Linked DNA regions of Homo sapiens: regions 1, 2 and 3 are each linked to region 4. Evidence: promoter capture Hi-C in human tissues and cell types (Jung and others, 2019). All regions are on one chromosome and are shown on one strand. Each heading gives the region's core, a stretch centred on a gene start or on the middle of the fragment in contact. The rest is flanking DNA. Distances are from core to core; before and after follow the strand shown. Region 1 has its middle 12 kb from the start of TUBA1A. Region 2 has its middle 31 kb from the start of TUBA1C. Region 3 holds the start of RHEBL1 (RHEB like 1). Region 4 holds the start of MCRS1 (microspherule protein 1).

Region 1 (2,700 bases), core at 142-2,641, 370 kb before region 4:
GGTGGCTCACACCTATGATCCCTGCTATTAGGGAGGCTGAGGCATGAGAATCACTTCAACCTGGAAGGCGGAGGTTGCTATGACCTGACATCGCACCACTGCACTCCAGCCTGGGTGACAGAGTAAGACTCTGTCTCAAAAAAAAAAAAAAAAAAAAAAAAAAATATATATATATATATATATATATATATATATAAAATAAATAATAATAATAACCTCATATAACACTGTGTTCCAGGCACTATTCTAAGTACTTTAATTCATTTAAGTTAATCCTAACTGATCACTAAATTCTGTCAATTACAATTCAAAATTATCTTAATAAACATTTGCAGAATGAACAATTGAGGAGGCTTCTGAAGCTTTACCAGTCTTTTTTTTTTGGAGATGGAAGTCTCACTCTGCCGCCCAGGTTGGAGTGCAATGGCATGATCTCAGCTCACTGCAACCTCTGCCTCCCAGGTTCAAGTGGTTCTCCTGCCTCAGCCTTCGGAGTAGCTGGGATTACAGGCGTGCACCACCACACCAAGCTAATTTCTGTATTATTAGTAGAGATGGGGTTTTACCATTTTGGCCAGGCTGGTCCCGAACTCCCAGCCTGAGGTGATCCACCCACCTCAGCCTCCCAAAGTGCTGGGATTACAGGCGTGAGCCACCACGCCCAGCCTTGACCAGTCTTATTAGCCAAAGGGCCTACATCAAGGGGAGGACGTGGCAGAATATTTAGGTTGGGCTTTGAACCTCCCTCTTCAAGTGTTACAGGCATAAATCTAAGACTAAAATAGAAGATACCCCCCTATAACATGTTGGAATGATCATGTACACCAGTGTTTCCTAAATGTGCTGAAGTAATTGGGGTGCTGGTTAAAATATGGATCCCCAGTTCCTCCACCAGAGAGTCTGATTCAGTAGGTCTAATTCAGTAAATAATACTCTCCTAGAATTAATAATTTATCATTTTTGAGCTAAACAATTTTAGTGTGCTTGATGTGGTTCAGCTATTTCTAAATTCTGATATCCGCTCGATAAATTTACTGAAAATTACTTTATTTATGGTTGTTAACCCTAAAGACACAACTCCTAGTGAAGCCTAGCCTCAAAGAGCATTTTAAGAAATGTCTCTCCATATTCCCTTTTTAAAATATTTTTTCTTTTTTTTTTTTTTAAACTTCTCTGGAGATAATGCTGGATCCACCTTCCTTTAGATTTAGAAATCAATTATGCACAGGCAAAAGAGAACTTAGAAAAAGCTGCCTAGCTTTTTCTTCATCTGCCTAGCCTAAAAGATCATTTAGCAAACATTTCTCCATTTCCCTGTGGATGTAAACTTTGATTATACATGTGTAGAAGAGAAAGGCTTAGAGAACGCTGTGGGTTTTTTCCTTCATCTGCTTATGTGAACAGCAATCTGTTGTTCTAGTACTGTCTACAGATTATAAGAGATGTAGAGTTTCACTCAAGATAGCATAGCCTGAAATAAGTCCCTTATATGGCAAGACTATTTATGGATTTAGTATATTTTAATAAATAAGCCCACTATTAATCTTTTTAAAATGATTTCAGTATTTTTAGATTTGTAAGAGCGACTTCACTCTCACCCCCATGTTACTAAGCAACGTATTATACAGTTGCTAGGAGACAGACTAGCAAGGTTGGGGGTATTTCAAATTTCCGTTGTCACCTTGCCTATCACATGACTATACCCTAGAGAGTTTTACAGCCTTAGAGAAAAGAGAAAAAAGTTAATGGCACATAGAAAAGAAGGAAAGAGAGATGAGGTTGAGGAATAAAGGAATAGAATAAGGAAAATTGCAAGGTATTTGAGAAGAGTCTGTGAACTTGGCAGGGAAAGGCTATTATGCAATTTCCTTGAATGAGTCATGGAAAAACCTTAAATTGCCAGTGCTGTATTTCATATTCTGTATGCTTCTACCTTTTCTAAAAACAAAATAGAGAATAAGCTTGGAGAAGAAGATCTTTCAGATAGTTTTTCTGAATATTTTCAGAAGAGTGGAAATCAATTATAACTCTTACAGAAGACAGGTATTTACAAATGAGTTTTTCAAAGTCACACATAATTTAAAATCCCCAAGTCAGATAAACAGCTTATTTCCTTCTATTTCTCCCTCAAAATAGTAAAAAAATGACAGTACTGAGAGGAAGGTTAGAATACAAGTGTTCTTAGACAAATTGAGCAGCAAGATGGTCATATAGGCTCTTGGGCAGTATGTGTTTCTGCACACAATTTAAAAAATTTAATACAAAGGAGAGAGAGAAGAAGCCTTTGTACTGTATCTCAAGGACTCTGTATCTGAAATAAGAAACCAGGCTCCAGGTCTCATTGTGTGTATGTGAAAAGTTGAGTCTTTGTGTCATTGTGTCTTCATGGTATTTACTGTTGCTAGCAACCAGGAAGCTCCCTAGTGATTGTCGCTAGGTCCTCCATGCCTCTGTCTGCCTGAAACCTTAGTCAGTGCCAGAAACACCAGAGATAAAAATCGTTGCAAAAAATCCAGCGCACATCATCCCCAGTGGTTTTATAGAAGACGGTTCATCTTGTGTTCAGTGAAAATCTGTGTAAAATGGAGGCTTCACACAGAGCTCATCCTCAGCTTCTTCTTCATCAATGCCAATCTTTCCGTGCAGAGCAGAGTGGACATTGTGATGGTTTAATTAAAATAAGATTTATATCCTAGCGTC
Region 2 (2,700 bases), core at 200-2,699, 330 kb before region 4:
AAGATGTATGACTTGTCGTTTTGGGGTTAAGTACAATCCCAAACACTCTGTCTCCACCACCTTTTTTCTGGAGGTGTTCTTTTTATTTTATTTTTTCAAAGTGGGGCACATTTCAGAAATTTTTGCTGGGAAACTCAGAATACAAACTTAACGGCATGTTAAAATTCTAAAAATAGTTTGACCCTGCATTTCACAGAGTTCAGGGCTTCAAAACTGTGCTGTCCAAACATGATTGGTGATTAATTGATTTTGACCCCCTGCAAGAAGTGAAAGCAGCTGGTTTACGAGACTTGAGAGACAGCCGATTTTCCAAGGGAGAACAAAGAAAAAGTGGCCACCCCTCCCCGCTGGGAGCGCGCTTTGCTTTGTCTGAGCGGACTCTCTCCAGGGACTGCCGCCGGGGAGGCTCAAAGCTGTGTCCTTGCGATTAGTTTGGTACACTTGGTTCAGCAGCCTGGGGAATGTGGGGAGATGTGTGCCTGCACAGTATCAACGTTATCAGCTGCCCTGTTCATGTCGCCTCTCCCTGAAGGACACTTTCATAACACAGTAACACTTAGGAGAAGGTTCCCCTCCTTTACTTCTGTTTCTCTGCTGATAAACAAATGTCAGGCATCTTCCTGGATCCGGGCCCTGATTCACTAAGTTACTGTATATCCATTGCCCTTTTTTGTCCTCCAAACACTGAGCTCTCAGTGCTCTTCTGGCTGGATCCAGATTGTGAAGATTACAGCCCCACTGGTTCCTTTCAGGACTTGGGGGCCCAACATTCCATCTCCAGGGCCTCAAGGAGCCTTCCATTCCTGATGGGTTCCCAATTACCGTGTTTCTGGTGCTACCAGACAAAAGAGAAGGCCCTGTTTTGACCCAGAGCCCTATAGCTGTGCCCTGATGGGAGATGGGAATTTTGATGTCTGACAACCTGATCAACAGCGTGACTCCTAGACCGAGTGAACCGTGGTCCGTCCACGAGCCTTCATCACTAGAGGAAAAACGGAGATGAATGATTATGACGCTTGAAGCAACGAACCTCTGCAAGTAGGAGGGTCCGGAAGGTTATTCCGGAATCACTGGGCAAGGTGAAGGGCAGGGCTGCGTAAGCGAAAGCGTCTGCTCAGTGCAGGGCAGCATAAACTCTGCAACATAAAAAGAGGGAAGCTGAGCTCTGGCATCATCTTGCGGGTTGCAGTTCCCGGCAACAGGGCTGGCTCCAGAGCAGAAGCGCAACCCGTCATCTTCCTGCGGGCCGCAGCCATAGGTGGAGAAAGGTGGTACCACAAGGCTCTCCCACTGGATGACGGTGACGCGCAATAAGCAGATGATTGCAGAGGCTCCTGTCAAATGGGTGCAGAGAAAAGGGAAGTGGGGAGAGGAGGAGGGACCTAGAAATGGCACTGCAACGATCCTGGAATAAAAACGAGGGGCCACAGTCAGAAATGACAAACGCCTCCACCTTGAAACGCAACCCCTAGCCCATTTATCCAATTTGCCTCTGATAACTGCTTTTAATATGTTGTAAATCCCATTAAAGCAGGAGAGAATAAATGAAAGCAGTCCCCTACCAGGTTCTAATTTTCATTCTCCTTTAGCATTGTCTTAAATAACAAGGACACCCTAAAAATCAAGTCCACCCTGTTTAGCTGTGGCAAGCGCTAAAAACCGTTAAGTTCGTTGAAACACTACTCTCCAAACCAGAGTAGGCTTCCAGGTTTCTCTGCAGAGCAGAAAGGAGGCTGTGGTTGTGTCCATGACTTTGCTTCCTTGGTTAGTACGGTGACGTGCAGCGCCAGGGCCTGGGCCTGGGCTCGGGCTCCCACCCGCGTGGCGCCGCAGTCCTGGCGAGCCCCGAGCGCTCTGTCCCCGGTGACCAGCAGGCGGCGCTATCTCCAGGCCGCAGCCGCCGCCCCGCCCGCCACGAAGGCCACTTCCGCCGCGGCCCGGCGAGCGCGCCCCCGCCACGCCCTGCTGTTTAGAAGCGGCCTTTCTTCACATATCGCTGTCCGCGAAAGTTTCTGAACTCTTGTGACAATTAATGCTGTTTGAAAACCTCCCTCTTGGGTCTTTTGGAAGAGTGGACATCCTAAAAAAAATTTTCTTTTTGGAGACGGAGTATTGCTTTTGTTGCCCAGGCTGGAGTGCACTGGCGCGATCTCGGCTCACTGCAACCTCCGCCTCCCAGATTCAAGCGATTCTCCTGCCTCAGACTCCCGAGTATTTGGGATTACAGGCACCCGCCACCACGCCCATCTGATTTTTGTATTTTTAGTAGAGACGGGGTTTCACCATGTTGGTCAGGCTGGTCTCGAATTCCTGTCCTCGTGATCCGCCCGCCTCGGCCTCCCAAAGTGCTGGGATTACAGGCGTGAGCGACTGCGCCCGGCCAAAAAAAAAAAAAAAATTAATTTGGGATTGCGTAATCAAAAAGTCTTTTAGACATCTCAAATGCATTGCAACTTATTCGAATAAAAAGGGCTCCTGACACGGACAAAAAGGCAGTATAGGTTGAAAATTAGAATGCTTAAAAAAAAAAAAAATTCCCCTTCCTGTTAGTTCCAGATTTTTCTGCAAGCTTGGAGGACAGCTCGCGAAAATTCAGCTGGGGCGCCATCTGCTGGACGCGCCGCGCCGCTGCAAGGCCCTTTCCGGAAAGGTGTCGGGGTTGCAGGTCAGCGCCCCATTTTTTGTCCAGGAGAGACTCGC
Region 3 (2,700 bases), core at 152-2,651, 500 kb before region 4:
GGCGTGCGCCACCATGCCCAGCTAATTTTGGTATTTTTAGTAGAGATGAGGTTTCACCATGTTGGCCAGGTTGGTCTCGAAATCCAGACCTCAATCCATCCGCCCGCCTCAGCTTCCCAAAGTGCTGGGATTACAGGCATGAGCCACTGCGCCCAGCCTCCCCTTACATTCTTAACCTTGGGGGTGACACAGATAGATCAGCTCCAGGGAGTTATCCAGGTAACTGGAAAGACACGCTAAGGTTCTTAATGTCTACATCTAAACTATCCCAGACTCAATATCTTGCAAAATCCATACTCTAGCCATCCATCGAACAGGATTGCTAAAGAAGAAATCAGATGTAATGTCTAAATAAATCAGCCCCTTGGCACCAGAGAAATAAATTATGGAGTTGGGTGGGGTATCCAAGCCCTCCGGGTCGCATACCACCAGCACACTAGGGGAGAAGTCTACTCACTATTCTCCACTGTAGGATCGTAGCCTTCCGAGAACTCGCCTTCCACAAATTGATGTGCCAAAGATGTCTTCCCTGTGGGGAGCAGTGTGACAGTTGTATCCAAATCATCCATCCACATTCACATCCTCTGTCCTTTCGGACTGTGGCCCAGGACCAAAGGAGACCCCAAATTAACACCACAGTCTGTGAGTGCCTCAAGCAATGCTATCCTTTGTGTCTACCCTCACCCTCTTTTCACCCAGGGTCTCCGCACTTTGGCTACCGGATGCATTCAGAAGCGCAGCAGGAAGCCTTTCCCGCCGCCTTCCCCACCCCATCCCACTCGTAGGAAGATCCAAGATTCCCTAGGATCAAGTCCGCCCCGCCCCAGGACACCTGCGACTATCTGTCCCCACGGAGACCGCGTCCCGGTTTTCAAATTGTGACCCCACCCCTATCCCCAAAGTAACGCTGGGACCACTCTGAGATTCCCGCAGCCAGGTCCGCATTAACCCTTAAGTGCTCCCGCTTCCTGCAGCCTCCACACACCACCAACTCTTCCAATCCTCCACTCTTCCATTCCTCCACTCTTCCAATCCTCGCTCTACAACCCCATCCTTACGATGTCATCATTCCTCCCTGGGTCGCGTTCCCACGGCAGCGCGCCTCTTCTGGCTACAAAGCTGCTGCGCGTCCGAGCTCTGCAGGGCGGAGACTCACCTACACAGCGGTATCCGAGGATGACCACCTTCCTGTAGCGGACTAGCGGCATGGCAGGAGCCCGCCCCAGGGGCTTGCGGAACTGCGGGCTCAGAGAGCCCGAAAACGAGGTCAGGGTGTGAGCAGGCGCGGCAGCTGGTGCAGGAAAGTCGCTCACCCCGAAGCTGCCGTGGGCAAGTTAGAAGGAAACCAAAACAAGCGCCGCGCCCGGAGCTGCCCACGTGATCACAACACAGCACGTCTAACGCCAGGGAGCCGGGCGCCCGGGGAACTACTGAGCCGCGCCGCGCCGGGCTCCGCCCCCCAGGCCGCTCGCCATTGGTCCATTAGAATGGGTAAGGGCGGTGCCGCCAGCAGGAGGGAAGGGTGGGCCTCACGTGGAGCGGGAGAACTGGGAGCTGCGCGTGCGCAGACTGGAGCCGGTTCATTCATAAAGAAACAGAAAGGAACCCGGGGTCCTAAAGGCGTTTGCGCATTTACAGCCTAGCTGAAGTGGCTTCGAAGAATTATGGATGGAAAATACCCGTTTTGTGGTTTCCGGTCATAAGATTCTAGCCCTCCCTTTTGCATGGTCTCTGGGGTCCTTAGATAGGGAGAAAACCGCCAAAGTTCTAGTATATTCCTTCTGCTTCCCCCAGCCTTCAGCCCCAGACCTATCAAGGTTTCCAGTCTTCCAGCATCTAATTTCAAACTGCAATTCTTATTCTTGCAGAAATTGCTAGAATTTATGATCAAGTAGTCTGAGGTTTCTTCTTCATCATCATGATCCTCAAATATTCATTTTTCAACAAATACTGAGTATATACTACATGTTTCAGGCATTGCTCCAGCTTTGGGGTCAGAACATGGACATCACAGACAATGTGTCTGCTCTTATGAAGGGAGAAACAAACATACAACAAGGAAATATCAGAGAGTGTTAAGTGCTGTAGAAGATGGTGTGATGAAAGATGACCACTTTATTTTTTTTATTTTTTTATTTTTATTTTTATTTTTTTTGAGACGGAATCTCGCTCTTTCTACCAGGCCGGAGGGCAGTGGCTCTATCTCGGCTCACTGCAAGCTCCGCCTCCCGGGTTCACGCCATTTTCCTGCCTCAGCCTCCAGAGTAGCTGGGACTACAGGCGCCCGCCACCGCGCCCGGCTAATTTTTTGTATTTTTAGTAGAGACGGGGTTTCACCGTGTTAGCCAGCATGGCCTCCATCTCCTGACCTCGTGATCCGCCCGCCTCGGCCTCCCAAAGTGATGGGATTACAGGCGTGAGCCACCGCGCCCGGCCGACCACTTTATTTTTTAAAGACAATACAGCATTTTTAATTTTTTTTCTTTATTTATTTTGAGACAGGGTTATGAGACTGGCTAATTTTTGTATTTTGGGGAGAGATGGGGTTTTGCTATGTTGCCCAGGCTGGTCTCGAACGCCTAGCCTCAAGTGATCCACCTGACCCGGCCTCCCAAAGTGCTGGGATTACAGACGTGAGCCACCGAGCCTGGCTGAGATGACCACTTTAGTGATACTTTCTCTCATAGGAAACCCCATTTA
Region 4 (2,700 bases), core at 107-2,606:
CCCACAGGCTCATCCAAGGATTCTGACCAGGTGAGCTTAAAGGCTGAGAGGAGATTCTGCAAAGGAGAAATGAGGCTCCCTGAGGCTCAGATTTCCAACTGGCCAGCCTCACTTCCTTATACTGGCTCAGGTCCCCCAGGGTCCCATAAGCTAGGGAAGACATAAGGACAGGAAAGAGGCATAAGGCCCCACTCTGCCAATAATAGCCTTAGACATCAGTCTTGTGAAGGTCACTGGCACCTTTCAGAGTATGATAACAGCTATGGACTGCAGAAAAGGGTGCAAACACATACTATTTTAGAGGGTTCATAGACCCTTTAATTCTACTGGTATCTCCTAGGTTAAGCGCCTTGACTATAAACTAGCAAGAGACAAGGGATTCTTTGGCCCACATTTTTCTTTACTTCAGCTGTCCACTCAGCTCAGCAGCACCAGCCTTCCCCTCCCAGGCCAAAGCAGGAAAAAAGAAAGGGAGACAAAACTCCAACCAGTCCATCTCGTTTTTTTTTTGTTTTTCTTTTCCATTTGGGGTTTTTACTGAAGATTTAGTAAGTGGTATTTCCATGAGATACCATCTCGTGGAAACCAAAAACCACTGTTTGGGAACTGCGTGATTATCAACCACGCTGTGCCCCAACAACCCCTAGAGAACCCAGGTACTGGACTTTCTCGGGGCGCTCCTCTCGTGAGTCCCCACTTCTAACCAGGGTGGCTCTTAGCTCAGTGTTCTAGCCCTGTCCCCAGGTGAGCCTGTCGCTCTCCGCTCCATAGGCTACGACTAAGAATCTTGACATCTGAGGAGAGGGCGAAGGGGCCCGAGCTTGCCGGCAAACTGAGGTAGGGTCTGTGCCCCTTCCTTACCGGACCCTCCGCCCCTCGTTCTCCCAAGAGTGCACACCCAAGGTAGGGGATCGGTCCAGGTCTGTCTCAAGAACTCGGGGTAGGAGCATTGATGAAGTCACCTCTGCAACTCAAAGCAGAGCACCAAGTAGCCTTGGTTTGAGACCCACAGGCTGGTGGCTGGGGAGGTGGGGGTAAACTCGCAAGCCCATTCTCACCCCACGGTCTCCATGCCTTTGCGCATGCGTAACACTTCGAGCCAGATTCTAACCCGGTCCGGCCCACGCATGCGCAGCTTTTCGGGGCGCCACTGGGGCGGGGCCCCAAACTTGGGGGGTGGTCGTCCCCGGCGGCACTCTGCAAAACTCCATTTCATCCCCAACTCCTCTGAGAACCCTCAGAGGCGAACCGCGAGGTCTCACCATTCCTAGACTGCCAGATCCAACAATTTCTCCGCGGCGACGGTAGCAGCCGCAGGGCCAAAGCCGGCTTCCGTGAGGTACGTCTACTTCCGGTTAACGAACCAGGGGGCTGGCAATCTCTTCCGGTTCGTCTTGGCAACGTGTGTGAAGGGGGCGTGGCCATGGTACGGAAAGTGTAAATATTTTACCAATAGCGGAAAGTAAAGGCTTTCCTAGTTGGGACAGCATATAGGGAAACGTTAAGGATTATAGGCACCGGAGAGGTAACCCGGCTTGAGGGGTTGGTTAAAGGGAAAGGCGAGACTTAGGGCGAGACCGAGCGGGGCTAATTGAGGCGACCCGGGGAGGGGCGGGACCGCGGACTGGATTTCGACTTCCAAATTCCCACGAGGTATAGGAGTCTGAGGGTTGCACAGGACCTTATGCATTGTTTGACTCCTCCAGAGCCTTTAGAGAAACTTCTATCAGGCCCGCCTGCTAGGCACTAGTCGGGGAGATAATGTAGCCAGGGAGATGTGGCGGACAGAAAGGGCAGAGAGGCTCTCTGAGGAGCGGATGGAGGATCGTGGGCCGCTTTACTGAGAAGGAAGAGACCCTGCGAGAAGGAGTAGTGTCGACTTGGTCCCGTCAGCCGGACCCCACCTGGACGGCTGGGGCCACTTGTGGTCGCCGGGAGGTAAGAGAGAAAACCAATGGAAGCACCTTCAGAGGAGAGTGCCTTGGAAGGAATCTTGGGGTGGGAGAACGAACCTGTCGGAAAAATTGGGAATTTGGGGCTGTGAGAGATGTTCCGGAAAACTAGAAAGACTGTTGTCTAAAAGAGGAATTCTGTTTTATGCTTCCTTTGCGAGGTACTAAAGTCTAGCAGCTATAGAGAGACATACTTCAGCTCAGAATAAGAAAGATTCAGTTCCAAAGCTGTCCATCAGAGGTGTCAAGAACACATAACATGGACATTGCTAGGGAATTCAAGTGTCAAATGAGAGACTGGCCCTTTTGGCCCTGACGGTATACTATGGCCCTCTGCTTCGAGAGTACCAACCTCATTTACTGTTCTGTGGACTTGTTTAATGAGTATGTACTTATTTTAACTCCCATGAAAGAGTGTGTGTTTTATTTTTTAACAGGCACTTGATTAAATATATTATGTAAACTTGTGAAAATATCAGAAAACCAATGAAATTTTTTTTTTTTGAGACAGAGTCCCGCTCCATAGCCCAGGCTGGAGTGCAGTGGCACAATCTCGGCTCACTGCAACCTCCGGCCCCCGGGTCTCGGTTCAGGCAATTCTCCTGCCTCAGCCTCCCGAGTAGCTAGGATTACAGGCACGTGCCACCATGCCCAGCTAAGTTTTTTTTTTTTTTTTTTTGTAGAGACAGGTTTTCACCATGTTGGCCAGGCTGGTCTTGAACTCCTGATCTCATGATCAGGCTGCCTC

What was found. The method cuts DNA at HindIII sites, captures the fragments that hold promoters and counts their contacts. A contact is called where the count stands out against the background at its distance.
Region 1: a contact is called between a fragment that was not itself captured here and the fragment with the promoter of MCRS1 in region 4, in 1 of the 25 tissues and cell types used here (IMR-90 fibroblasts).
Region 2: a fragment that was not itself captured here is called in contact with the fragment with the promoter of MCRS1 in region 4 in 2 of the 25 tissues and cell types used here (adrenal gland and hippocampus).
Region 3: a contact is called between the fragment with the promoter of RHEBL1 here and the fragment with the promoter of MCRS1 in region 4, in 1 of the 25 tissues and cell types used here (dorsolateral prefrontal cortex).

What each region holds. Positions count from the first base shown.
Region 1 is chr12:49,199,672-49,202,371 of GRCh38, forward strand. No RefSeq gene overlaps it. Among named protein-coding and RNA genes, the nearest start is that of TUBA1A, 12 kb to the left of the region's middle. The HindIII fragment of the contact is 4,030 bases long and covers 1-2,700 here.
Region 2 is chr12:49,232,734-49,235,433 of GRCh38, forward strand. It overlaps a transcript of TUBA1C not described here. Among named protein-coding and RNA genes, the nearest start is that of TUBA1C, 31 kb to the right of the region's middle. RefSeq lists a silencer at 1,744-2,033. The HindIII fragment of the contact is 6,126 bases long and covers 1-2,700 here.
Region 3 is chr12:49,068,578-49,071,277 of GRCh38, forward strand. It overlaps RHEBL1 (RHEB like 1), which reads right to left and starts at 1,402. Exons shown (of 8, transcript NM_144593.3): 1 at 1,157-1,402; 2 at 458-529. The coding sequence starts at 1,208. RefSeq lists enhancers at 1,116-1,425, 1,796-1,845 and a silencer at 1,446-1,565. The HindIII fragment of the contact is 9,146 bases long and covers 1-2,700 here.
Region 4 is chr12:49,566,786-49,569,485 of GRCh38, forward strand. It overlaps MCRS1 (microspherule protein 1), which reads right to left and starts at 1,357. Exons shown (of 15, transcript NM_006337.5): 1 at 1,263-1,357; 2 at 1-56. RefSeq lists enhancers at 653-1,456, 1,807-1,856. The HindIII fragment of the contact is 15,517 bases long and covers 1-2,700 here.